3 separate regions of the Homo sapiens genome follow, and all the other regions are linked to region 2. Evidence: promoter capture Hi-C in 16 types of primary human blood cells and fetal thymus (Javierre and others, 2016). All regions are on one chromosome and are shown on one strand. Each heading gives the region's core, a stretch centred on a gene start or on the middle of the fragment in contact. The rest is flanking DNA. Distances are from core to core; before and after follow the strand shown.

The links. The method cuts DNA at HindIII sites, captures the fragments that hold promoters and counts their contacts. A CHiCAGO score of 5 or more calls a contact.
Region 1: a contact is called between the fragment with the promoter of RHOB here and a fragment that was not itself captured in region 2, in 1 of 17 cell types (total CD8 T cells). The highest score is 5.3, in total CD8 T cells.
Region 3: a contact is called between the fragment with the promoter of LDAH here and a fragment that was not itself captured in region 2, in 3 of 17 cell types (total CD4 T cells, total B cells and M0 macrophages). The highest score is 7.2, in total CD4 T cells.

The regions. Positions count from the first base shown.
Region 1 is chr2:20,445,702-20,450,056 of GRCh38, reverse strand. RHOB (ras homolog family member B) reads right to left here and starts at 2,983. Exons shown (of 1, transcript NM_004040.4): 1 at 617-2,983. The coding sequence starts at 2,591. The coding sequence ends at 2,001. RefSeq lists silencers at 2,565-2,774, 3,025-3,274. The HindIII fragment of the contact is 3,675 bases long and covers 40-3,714 here.
Region 2 is chr2:19,347,522-19,351,762 of GRCh38, reverse strand. It overlaps OSR1 (odd-skipped related transcription factor 1), which reads left to right. Exons shown (of 3, transcript NM_145260.3): 3 at 1-278. MIR4757 (microRNA 4757) reads right to left here and starts at 3,334; the gene lies at 3,258-3,334. RefSeq lists enhancers at 1,184-1,253, 3,577-3,706, 3,757-4,026, 4,177-4,236. The HindIII fragment of the contact is 1,482 bases long and covers 1,235-2,716 here.
Region 3 is chr2:20,820,196-20,824,589 of GRCh38, reverse strand. LDAH (lipid droplet associated hydrolase) reads left to right here and starts at 1,489. Exons shown (of 7, transcript NM_021925.4): 1 at 1,489-1,553. RefSeq lists enhancers at 1,306-1,695, 1,916-1,985, 1,788-2,613. The HindIII fragment of the contact is 14,255 bases long and covers 1-4,394 here.

The DNA.
Region 1 (4,355 bases), core at 1,734-4,233, 1.1 Mb before region 2:
TCTAGGTTACTTAATAAAGGACATATTGGGATCAAAGCTTGATAATTTTAAAAAATCACCTCTTTATCTGAACTCCCCCACTTCTGGAAGCTCCAGGCCCAAAGATAACAACCTACAACTTCCTGGGATATTGTGTAAACCCCTTGATGGCCTGAAGGGAACCCAGTAAACAGGCTTCCTGATAGCGTGACCCCACACCAACGATTAATAAAGGTTTTCTAAATTTAAAATGCACAAATGATAACTTTCCAAGACTCAAAGAATAAGCAAAGCCCCATAATAGACTTAAAGACACAAGTGTTTTTAAGACACACAGATGAATGAAATCAAGATCTTCGGTCTCACCCAATTGAACTGAGTACATAATAGGTCAAAAGTTTTTGCACTGGGTGTCGGGGTATCCACTCATCTTCCTCTAGGAATGTGACAGGAACAACCTGGTCTCCCTTGGTCACCCAACCCCCACATGCTCTCAAAGGGACTTCATCCTCATTTACTACATTTGCTATAAGGGAAACGGAGTTGGCAAGAAAGGATCTCGCCTAGGAGAATATCTCCCTTGTTCCAAATTCACAAGGGTATTTTTACACACTATTAAACCACAAGAGCCATTTTATAAATGTCATCATCATAGTCTTTTAATATTTTACATAAAAAACTGTATACACAGCTTATAGAACTTTTATGTAAACATCATAAGCTCACCATTTTGTCATTTGTCAGTTTATTTAAAAAATAAAAAACAAGACAACAATTTAGTAGAAGTACCACTGGGAGGGAGGGGAGGGGAAAAAAGGATATACAGGGGCAGGTGTATTCTCTGTACAGAGGTGCAGAGAAAATTTCACATAGCTTTAGAGAATGCCTTGTGGAAAAAAAAAAAATAGGCCCCAATACTTGTTACTGCCCTTTATCAAAACTGTGTGCATGACCTGCACAAATAAAATCACAAAACAGTGTTGCCACATTCTTCAAGGAAACAAAGCAAAATTTAGTGGGTTTCTTTTCCCTCTCCTTGTTAAAAGTCATTTTTTAAAAACATCAGAAGTAGATGAGGTTACAGCGTACAAGTGTGGTCAGAATGCTACTGTCGTATGCAAATGACGAGTGCATTAAGTGTCAAACAATGAAACAATTGTGCAAAGAATAAAAAAACAAATTTTAGCCTTTAAATAAATCAAATAACATCAGTTTCTTGGACTGAACAATTTTCACTTCTAGGACAGGCACAAAGTTCGCTTATGGCAAAAACAACCCCACAGCGCATCCTCCCTCCTCCCTCCGGTAGCTGGTGGAGGGTTCGCAGCGGGCTGGCCCGCAGGAGAGGCTGTGCTGAAGCTGTGTCCTCCCCAAGTCAGTTGCAAATGTCTTCCCCAGGGGTTGGAAAGATGGTCAAGTCCTGTTCATGCTTGGGCGGGAGTCTGGCCCAGCCTGGGCCAGAGCGCTCACCCATCACCACCCTTAAATAACACCATCTTAGCTCCGAAAATAAAATTATATCTATATTTATATAACATCCCCCCATCCTCCCCAGCAGCCCTCCCCTCCCGCAGTACCCGGGGTCTATGTTACAGACAAGGGATATCAAGCTCCCGCTGGTGAAGGGCGAACATCTGATGGGGCGCGGCCACACTCCCGCGCCAATCTCGCCCCCGGGGATCAGAGGCGGGGGTGGGGTGAAAATGGGGCGAGGGGAGTCGAACAGACACACAGCCACACACTCTGAGGCCCGGCTCTTCAGAAAAGCATGCTCAGGGGACCCTTGGCACTCAGTGGGGAGCCCAGGCCTGTGCAACACAGCTGGACGCACACAGACACTGGGATGGGGGCGCCCGGTGCCCACGCCAAGTCCTGGCGCAAGCCAGAGGCGTCAGCAGACAGATGCCAGGCAGGCCGGTGGGGTCCTTGTGGGACACGGGTCTCCCCTTCTCCGGGCTCGCGGGGGACTGGTCCAGGAGGGGGAGCCGTGCCGGCAGGGGCAGGCGCGACGGGCGCGGCCCTCATAGCACCTTGCAGCAGTTGATGCAGCCGTTCTGGGAGCCGTAGCGCTTCTGCAGCGCGGCGCGCGTGGCCGTCTCGAAGACCTCGCGCACGCCTTCCTTGGTCTTGGCAGAGCACTCGAGGTAGTCGTAGGCTTGGATGCGCACGGCCATGGCGCGGCCGTCATCCGTGCGCACGGGTTCCTGCTTCATGCGGGCCAGCTCTGTGCGGACATGCTCGTCGCTGCGCAGGTCTTTTTTGTTGGCCACCAGGATGATGGGCACATTGGGACAGAAGTGCTTCACCTCGGGGACCCACTTCTCGGGGATGTTCTCCAGCGAGTCCGGGCTGTCCACCGAGAAGCACATGAGAATGACGTCGGTGTCCGGGTAGGAGAGCGGCCGCAGGCGGTCGTAGTCCTCCTGGCCCGCCGTGTCCCACAGCGCCAGCTCCACCTGCTTGCCGTCCACCTCAATGTCGGCCACATAGTTCTCGAAGACGGTGGGCACGTACACCTCGGGGAACTCGTCCTTACTGAACACGATCAGCAGGCACGTCTTGCCACACGCGCCGTCGCCCACCACCACCAGCTTCTTGCGGATGGCCGCCATGAGCGGGCCGGGCCCGGGCAGCAGGAGGGGGCCCGCGAACGCCTCGCTGCCCTCCCGCTCGCCGCTCACTGCTCACCTCGGGCTGCGCGCAGGTGGCGAGAGGGTCGCTAGCTGCACCCGGGCCCCGCGGTGGCGCGTTCTCTCGCTGCGCTTCGGCTGCCGCGGCGGGGGCGGTGGGGGCGCGGGGGCATAGGGCGCACCGTGCGTCTCGCCGCGCTGCTCCCGGGCGGTGGTCGCTCTGCTCACCCCAGGCCGGGGATCGGCGGCTTTGTGCGTAACGCGGGCTCGGGCAGCAGACTCGGGCGGTGGACTCGGCCTAGCTCTCTCCCGGGTCTCTCCGGGCCTCGCTGAGCATACAAGACAACAGCTCCAACCAGACTGCGGTGGCAGATGAGGGCTGCGGCCCTAGCGCCCGCTATTTAAAGAGTCCGGCCACTTTCTTAATATAGCCGTCCAATGGGAAACCAGCCGGCTGAGCTCATCGCTGCGGAGCTTAGCTCTGATTGGCCGCCCCCTGCAGCCCGAGGGCGGGGCAGGGCCAGCTTGATTGACGGCCCAGGCCGCCGGGCTGGGAGAGGCAGCGACCGGGGAGTCCGCGCTGCTGCTGCCGCTGCGGGGCTCTGGCGGTACCCGGGTCCCCTCCTTCGCCGCAGCGTTTGCGCGCGGGGTCCGGGAGCTGGCTGTCTGGAGCCTCCAGGGTCTGGGCGAGCGGTTCCGAGACAGGCTTCACTCAGTGGGGCGTTGGCGACTCCCATTCAGAATTGCCCCTCTTCCTGGCAAACTCCCGGCGGGTGGTCGGGCCTGTGGGGGAGGGGCAGCTCTTTTAACGTGGTTTTGTTTTTAAATAAACAGACACACACACACACACACACACACACACACCCCACACACACACTTTTGTTCCCAAACAAGAGTGTTTTCTCTTTTCTTTTGGAGGTGGCCCCTCCTGTGGTTTAGGGCCCCACCCGGGTACTCGCCGTGGGCCAGCCTCGGGTTTGGACCCGAGAGGCGACCGGCTGGCTGCAAACTGGCTCTTCCAAGTCCCGCCGCCCCTACCCTTCCCAACCCCCAGCTTAGGTCTCTAGGTGAAGATTAAGGGAAGAGGTGCGGAGTGGCCCAAGCTTGACAACGGAAAGGGAAGGTCGAGGCTCGAACACTTGGAGGAAGTTACCGGACAGGAAGAAGCCCCTTCGGCCCCTCTTTTCACTATGAACTCTGATCCCGGTTCTTAAAACAGAGAACTGTCTGAGATAAATTGTACAATAGAATATACACTATTGTACAATAGAATGTACAATAGAATATACACTATTGTACAATAGAATGTACAATAGAATATACACTATTGTACAATAGAATGTACAATAGAATATACACTTGTACAATAGAATGTACAATAGAATATACACTATTGTACAATAGAATGTACAATAGAATATACACTATTGTACAATAGAATGTACAATAGAATATACACTATTGTACAATAGAATGTACAATAGAATATACACTATTGTACAATAGAATGTACAATAGAATATACACTATTGTACAATAGAACGTACAATATTCCGGGTTCAATAGAATCCAACCACCCCAAGACCCCTGAGCAGACGAAAAGGCTTGAGGCTGGAGAAGAGGGGAGGAGTAAGGGGCTAGCAAATGGGGCACAGCGGGTTAGGGGGTGTCCCCTCTATTGGGGCGTAGCCTCCTGATGCACGCCAGGACTGAACTCATTTATCCTGTAGATCCTGCATGAAATGA
Region 2 (4,241 bases), core at 726-3,225:
CAGCCTCCTGCCCTAGGGACCGCGGGGCAGCCCCCTCCCAGCTCTTGCAGCTCAGCTGGCGGCCGTGGGCTCCGGGACTAGGAGAGCGGGACGGGGACCTCGGGCCTGGGGTCTGCAGGGGGCCCGGCCTCCGCTGCCGCGACACTGCGAGGGAGCAGCCAGCCAAGAGCCGGGCGTTATATTGCGATTGGCACTTTATGCTGACCATCGGTAACGGACATTTATCACTGGAGTTTTTTTTTTTTTTAACTATTAAATAAACGGTTATTTTACAGGCATTGCAGGATGGGTAATTTCCCTCCTAAACGCAGGAAACCGGTTGGGTCCTCTCTTTGAGAGGACCAGGTTTCTCTGCTGGACGCCAGCGTGTCCCCCTCCTACCACCCCGTCTTATTAGGATGACAGGGCTGAGATGTGTGGAGCAACGTCCTCTCTCCCGGTTAGGTCTGCCTCCGCCCCACCATGTATTGATTTTCCTACTTTTCTCCTCCGCCTCAGGGATAGGGTCTCAGCCTTCCCACTCCTCACCGCTAAAGTGCTGTGAGTTTACGAAGAACCTAAGCCTGAAGGCAGAAAACCGCCCGTGAGAAATCCCAGAGTCTCTGGGTGCTGAGACAGCGTCTCTGGGTGCTGAGATCGCTTAGGGTGCAAGAAGAGAAGAGAATGTCTTTCCCCACCCTAACCGAAGGCCTCCCTCCTGGCCTCTGGCTTTGGGGTGGGAAGGACCCGCCCTCACAGAGCCTCAGAGCTGTAATATTTCCCGTTCCCCGGGTCTCAACACTCGGGTGCAAATACACAATGACCGCTGCCTCCCCGGAACCCCAAACCAACATCACTCCCTCCCTTAGGGTCCCTCAGACACAATTCTCTGCTTGGGACTTGTCCCCTCCTAGGATCGAGGCTCTGCACCCGCGAAGATTCCCTACAATTTTAAAGCCTTGTCAGGAATGGTGGGGGCGGGCGCCCTGGGAGGCCCGGGACGCTTAGGAGGAAAAATTCGAGTCCGCCTTCCATAAGCTGAACCTTCCCTGGGGTGTCTAGTTTTCCCACAGTTAGAAGCCAGGCCGCCGGGGCTCTTCTCCTTGGGGCAAGGCGGGGCTCCCCCCAGCTCCAGCGCCCTGACCGCGGGACCGCGCAGGCGGTGGCGCCCGCGGCCTTTCCCAAGCGCAGGATGGCCTCTCCAGCTTCAGCGCCCGGAGCGCGGCGGCCGCGGATGACAACTGGACTATAAGCTTCCCTGCTGCAGGCACCAAAAATCCCAGCCTCAAGCCGGGCCCTGCTGGCTGAGAAAGCGGCAGGGGATGCAGAAGTTAAAACGCTCTGGGCTTTCACCACCCCATCCCCACCTCCTCCGGGAACGCTCCTGAGTCCTGTGCGGGCTAGAACTTCGAGGCCCGGGAACCCAACTGGGCACTGGAGGCTGGCCCTGCCGGCGCGGACCAGCCCTGGCCTCCACGCTCAGAGCCACGCTGCCCCCTGCTGGCCAGCCCTGGAGGGGCGGCCCAGGACTTGGCACCTCAAGGGGTCTTGCCCGCAACCTCGCGAAACCACCAAGCATCTATGTGTTTGGTCCCAAAATCTTGACTGGCCCCAGGACCCACTGTGGATGAGGGGCAGGGCGCTGCTGAGTCTGGTCTGGTCTGAGGGATCTTCATTAGTTGGGCACTATCCCAATCCTTCTTCCAAGCAGTTCACAAGGTCGCGCGCGGCCCAGGATTATGCCCCCATTCCTGAGAACTGGGGCCTCTGAGTGCGTGGAAGTGGGGCTAGCCAGTAGGTTTGCGGGTGGTGTAGACGGTCTGCGCCCAAGCGGCGCACGCAGGTTGTGGTGTGGTTTGTGCCTGACCATAGCTTGTACTAGGGTCAACTGCAGAATCTTCCTTGGTTTCTTTATGAAGCCCCAGGAGGCTGCGGGCCATGGTTGCTCCAAAACAACCAGAGTGCATGGGTGAACACACACACACACAGGGTGCCCTTCCTAGTCCCTTGGCTCTTTCTGGGATGCTATCCTTGGGGTTGTCTATGGCTGCTCTTCCCTAGCCCCTGACATCCCTCCACCTCCCAGAACACATCATTCCACCTCCCTGAAGATCGAGCCTCTGCAGTTCCCGGGGCCTCAGGAAGCTACAAATGCGGTGAAATGGGGAGGTTTGCCAGCCACGTTAATCCTTTTTGGGTCACCCCACCTCCAGCACTGTGAAAACCCACCCAGTCCAAGGTCTGCAACTGAATGTCAGTATCAAGTGTGCATCCTCAAAATAACAGATTTCCAGTGCAGAATTTTAAATTGGGGATGGGGAATGGAGGGTGGGACAGGATGATGCGCAGCAACTCCCTGGCCCTCTCAGAATGCCCCTATTTGCTCTACTGATGTTTGCTGTTATCCCGGTGGACTCAGAGATCACGTCTCCCTGCAGCTTGTTCTAGTGATTCATAGACTGTGCAGAAACAGTAACTACAGGTGGAAAGGCCGGCTGGGCCTGTGGGCCATCCGACCCTATCCAGGCTACAATTCCCAGGTGATGTGGTTGGTTGATGTGGTTGGAAACTAGTGCCCCAGTTTCCTGCTCATACTCAGTGTGGGTTGCACAAAAAGTGCAATTGAGAGGGTCAGAAATGTTGGGTGGGTTTCCTTGCCTGCCCCAATTTTTCCCCCAATGCATCTCTAGAAAGTCCCAGCTCTTGTCTCCTCTCCAGACCCCCATCACAATAAGCTTCGCTGGTCCCAGTGACTGTGTGGCGCTCAGCGTTGCTGGGGCTATTTTTCAGGAGAAAAAGAGGCCGATGGTGCTGGCCAGGTGGAGTTCAGCTGGGGCCCTTCTCAAAGCTGCTAGGCCTGAAGTTTTTGTGTACGGCTGGGGAAGCTATCTGGCCTAGGACAGCCTCTTGGGCAGGGAGGGCGGAAGGTGCCAGAGACCCTGGGCACAGCCCGGAACTGCCAGATGCTGTCTCCGGTAAGATATCAGGTGCTTCCAGGGAAAAGAACAGCTTGCAGGAGCTTCTTCCTGGGAGAGAGTGTTTCAGGTTCTACCCCCTATTTCCAGAGTGTAGTTAGGGGTTAGGGACCCACTAAAAAATGTTTTCCCGCGTACTTCCTTGCCGCGGAATTCACTGCTCACATTGTGGGGAGGGACGCAATGTGATGCTCTGGGACTCCCTGACGTGACCTCAGCTCCCAGAACCTGAGGACCTGATATCCTAAATCCCCTAGAATCTTGGTGTCCCCATAGCCGGCTCAAAAGAGTCCCGTCCCACCTCTCAGAGCGCGAAGCCTCTGTGACGTCATGGTCTCCTCCCGCAGACACCGTGACGTCACAGAGGCCTCGGGCTGGAACACAAGGCTTGAATGAGGTCCACAGAGGCATTCCATTACGTAACTTCGTGACGTCACAGATGGGCCCCGCCTCGGGCTAACATATCCACACCTCTCAGCCCCGCCCCGCCCCGCCCCGCGAATCGGCCCAGGCAGGCGCCACGAATCGGTTCGTCTCCACTAACACGATCCGCAGACCCGAAGCGTTGGCAGCTGTCCTGAGTGAAGGGCGGTGCCCTGCAGCGTCCTCTTCTTGAATCAGTGGTTTAGAGTGGTCTCCCTGCCCGCGGGGTTTCAGGGCAGCAGTTGCCGCGGCGTACTCATCCCACCCACTTCTGCGCCCACTATGGCCGCGCCCACTGCGGCCCCGCCCTCCTCTCCCACTGCGCAAGCGCCACGCGCAGGCGCAAAAGGAACTCGCAGGCCAGTGCTGCTGGTGCCGGAGTCCGGAAGCTGACGGCGGTGCGTGGAAATCGTCGCGGAGTTCAGTGTTTTGCTTTTGGGGATCACAAACTCAGGGGCACACTGGCCCGGCGGGCGCATCCAGCCGTTGGCGTATGTGTGGGCAGAAAATGCAGACGAGAAAGTGGGTGGCGCTTGGCTAATGCGGGCTGGAGCCCTTGACTTGGAGTGCCCAGTCCAGCGCCGCGGTCCTACAGAGGCCCCTGGGATCTGAGCTGGCGAGGGTGGCGCGGCGGGTCCTACCCAAGGCCAGAAAGTTCGCTGCGGTCCCAGCTCTTTTGGGCAGCCTCTCTGAGGTAGAGCTCTCAGACGGTCTTCAGCCCGGTGGAACGCCCTGGTGTCCCACTCCACCCGTTCATCCCGACTTCCTGGGCCGTCTCTAGAGCCCAGTTGGTAGTTGGGCCCAGTTGGCATATGTTTCAGATGAAAAATTCATTACGGACTTGAGATGCTAGGTTGGAGACAA
Region 3 (4,394 bases), core at 240-2,739, 1.5 Mb before region 2:
GAGTCCCTGAGAGAGTGGGTTGTTTTCCACCTCCTGTTTGGTCTGTTTTCACATGTATCAGCTTCCCCTTTGACCTTCTACCATGTTGTGACACTGCACAAAAAACTCTAACCAGAACTGAGCAGATGCTCACACTATGCCCCTTGAGCTTTCCAATGTGCAGAACCATGAGCTAAGTAAACCTCTTTTTTAAATCCAAGCATACTTTGAAGATATTGGGGGTTCAGTTCCATACTACCACAATAAAGCAAACATCACAATAAGGCAGTTCACAGAATTTTTTTGGTTTCCCAGTGCATATAAAATTTATATTTACACTGTACTGTAGATTATTGTGTACAACAGTATTATGTCTAAAAAAAGTACATACTAAGAAAAGAAAAATAGCCCAGAGCTGTCTGAGCTATGTGAGGTATGCAAAATTTATTAGACCCGGACAGAAGTGAATACTGGCTTCCGCCACGCCTTCCCATGCCTTAGGGCAATTGTTAAAGGCATTTTGTTCTTTATTAGCTGCCTCACCCATTATCTTTATGTTCCTGGAATTTGTGATACAAGGAAGAAAGCATAGCCAGTCAATAGCTTAAGTTTTTTAAATATAAATTCTTGGTAAACAAGTTAAGCTCTGCCTCCTCTCCTTTCCTTAAAAACCGGCTCACGCCTGTAATCCCAGCACTTTGGGAGGCCGAGGCGGGTGGATCATGAGGTCAGGAGATCGAGACCATCCTGGCTAACAAGGTGAAACCCCGTCTCTACTAAAAATACAAAAAATTAGCCGGGCGCGGTGGCGGGCGCCTGTAGTCCCAGCTACTCGGGAGGCTGAGGCAGGAGAATGGCGTGAACCCGGGAAGCGGAGCTTTCAGTGAGCCGAGATTGCGCCACTGCGGTCCGCAGTCCGGCCTGGGCGACAGAGCAAGACTCCGTCTCAAAAAAAAAAAAAAAAAAAAAAAAAAACCTACTCCGACTGCTGCTAATTGGAGTGTATATTCAAGGCAACTTGAATCTAAGCTCCTGAGTGGCCATTCTCAAGCACTGAGCCCAAATAAACTCTATACTTAATATTATTCTCTGAATTTTCTTAAAGTTGGCAACACCTTAATTAAAAAAATACTTTATTGATCATGCTTATGAACATGATCAAATGAGAATCAACTTTCCTGTGTATGTGGGGAAGATATGCAACTAGTAACGCAGAAAGAGGGAAATGGGAAGAGGGAGAAAAGAGGGGCAGACATGGAACAAATGAGAGAGAAGGAAAGGGAAGCCAGAAGCCAGAAGCACATCAAGGATGACAGAAAATAAAAGGCGGATAAAATTCAAATGAAAAAGAAAGGAAAACCCCGACACCCTCCAAGAGGTCTCTCTGATCTGGACCACCGGCTCCAAGCCAGTAAGAAATCTCCCAGCCAGCTGTGCGCCGCGCGCCAGGCTGACATCGGCTTCCCGGATCAGCTCCGGCGCGGTACTGTGACGTCACCTGAGGGGGGCACTTCCGGTCTCGTGCCGCCTTCCCAGGACCCTCAGGGAGAGCGGGCAGCCTTCCAGGTGGACAGGTGAGGTACAGCTTGCCGAGCTCAGGGTGACTGCCCAAAGGAAGGACGGGTGGGCAGGCACGCGGGATCTGGCGCCCCTTCTTCTCTATGGTTCCTCGCAGAGCCCCTGTTGCCCTGGGCCAGATGGCCCGTAGCAGCAAAAATAATACTGTTCCGACAGCTCGCGAGTTCGGAGCCACTTGGCCTGGGAGTCCCTTGAGTTGCAGGCCGGGCAGTCGCTCACCCGAGCGCGGTAATGCAGCATTTGAACCCCTAAGTGTAGCCCACCTGTAGGGAGTCTTATGGTGCCCCCGCGGAGGAGTAGAGGCCAAAAAGTTGGGCAGCTGGCCGGGAAGAACTCGCTAGGAGGGGTCAAACTCTGGGCCGGGAGTGTTCTTTGCCCCCGGCGTTTAGTGCTCACGCCGCCTTTTATTCACGCTGAAGACCTTAACCGTAAACCCTCATCCTTGGGTCTTAGTTTGGTTTTGTTCCCCACGCAAGACAGAATGCAGATTGGAACACTTTATTCCTTGGTTAATTCGTATCTTCCCTCGCAAGTAGTTACCGGACACCTGCTTTGTGTCCTGTGTACCAAACACAAGAGTTGATAGTCCTGGCCGGGCGCCGTGGCTCACGCCTGTAATCCCAGCACTTTGGGACCCCGAGGCGGGCGGATCAGGAGGTCAGGAGATCGAGACCATCCTGGCTAACACGGTGAAACCCCATCTTTACTAAAAATACAAAAATAAATACATAAATAAATAAATTAGCCGGGCGTGGTGGCGGGCGCCTGTAGTCCCAGCTACTCGGGAGACTGAAGCAGGAGAATGGCGTGAACCCGGGAGGTGGAGCTTGCAGTGAGCCGAGATGGCGCCACTGCACTCTAGCCTGGGCGACAAAGTGAGACTCAGTCTCAAAAAAAAAAAAAGAGTTGATAGTCCTTGAGTTGAAAGAACAAATCTGTATGGAGAAAGAGATACAACCAAAAGAAACCCAGAAGATTTAGAAGCATCTCCAGAATGTTTATTCTCAAAAGCTGTTTTTTAATTAAACTTCTTTCTGAAACTATACGTAGGAGTGTCTCTTGTGTGTTTCCCCATTTTTCCACCTGAAGGTTAAAGACTTAGAAACCTGCTAAGGCCCCTCTTTCCAGCATGTAGCATTCTAGGGGGATAATCAGGGCAACACAGTGGGTGCCCATCTAAAATTTTATATTTTAATATTTTGCTTTTTGATAACTTAATGCCTTCAGACTGGAGGATTTTTTCTTTCTTTTTTTTAATTTTTTTAAAATTATACTTTAAGTTCTAGGGTACATATGCACAACGTGCAGGTTTGTTACATATGTATACATGTGCCATGTTGGTGTGCTGCACCCATTAACTTGTCATTTACATTAGGTATATCTCCTAATGCTATCCCTCCCCACTCACCCCACCCCACAACAGGCCCCGGTGTGTGATCTCCCCCTTCCTGTGTCCAAGTGTTCTCATTGTTCAATTCCCACCTATGAGTGAGAACATGTGGTGTTTGGTTTTTTGTCCTTGCGATAGTTTGCTGAGAATGATGGTTTCCAGCTTCATCCATGTCCCTACAAAGGACATGAACTCATTCTTTTTTATGGCTGCATAGTATCCCATGGTGTATATGTGCCACATTTTCTTAATCCAGTCTATCATTGTTGGACGTTTGGGTTGGTTCCAAGTCTTTGCTATTGTAAGTAGTGCTGCAATAAACATACATGTGCATGTGTCTTTATAGCAGCATGATTTATATTCCTTTGGGTATATACCCAGTAATGGGATGGCTGGGTCAAATGGTATTTCTAGTTCTAGATCCCTGAGGAATCGCCACACTGACTTCCACAATGGTTGAGCTAGTTTACAGTCCCACCAACAGTGTAAAAGTGTTCCTGTTTCTCCACATCTTCTCCAGCACCTGTTGTTTCCTGACTTTTTAATGATCACCATTCTAACTGCTGTGAGAAGATGTCTCATTGTAGTTTTGATTTGCATTTCTCTGATGGCCAGTGATGATGAGCATTTTTTCATGTGTTTTTTGTCTGCATAAATGTCTTCTTTTGAGAAGTGTCTGTTCATATCCTTCACCCACTTTTTGATGGGGTTGTTTGTTTTTTTCTTGTAAATTTGTTTGAGTTCTTTGTAGATTCTGGATATTAGCCCTTTGTCAGATGAGTAGGTTGCAAAAATTTTCTCCCATTCTGTAGGTTGCCTGTTCACTCTGATGGTAGTTTCTTTTGCTGTGCAGAAGCTCTTTAGTTAAATTAGATCCCATTTGTCAATTTTGGCTTTTGTTGCCATTGCTTTTGGTGTTTTAGACATGAAGTCCTTGCCCATGCCTATGTCCTGAATGGTATTGCCTAGGTTTTCTTCTAGGGTTTTTATGGTTTTAGGTCTAACATTTAAGTCTTTAATCCATCTTGAATTAATTTTTGTATAAGGTGTAAGGAAGGGATCCAGTTTCAGCTTTCTACATATGGCTAGCCAGTTTTCCCAGCACCATTTGTTAAGTAGGGAATCCTTTCCCCATTTCTTGTTTTTGTCAGGTTTGTCAAAGATCAGATAGTTGTAGATGTGTGGTATTATTTCTGAGGGCTCTGTTCTGTTCCATTGATCTATATCTCTGTTTTGGTACCAGTACCATGCTGTTTTGGTTACTGTAGCCTTGTAGTATAGTTTGAAGTCAGGTAGCGTGATGCCTCCAGCTTTGTTCTTTTTGCTTAGGACTGACTTGGCAATGCAGGCTCTTTTTTGGTTCCATATGAACTTTAAAGTAGTTTTTTCCAATTCCATGAAGAAAGTCATTGGTAGCTTGATGGGGATGGCATTGAATCTATAAATT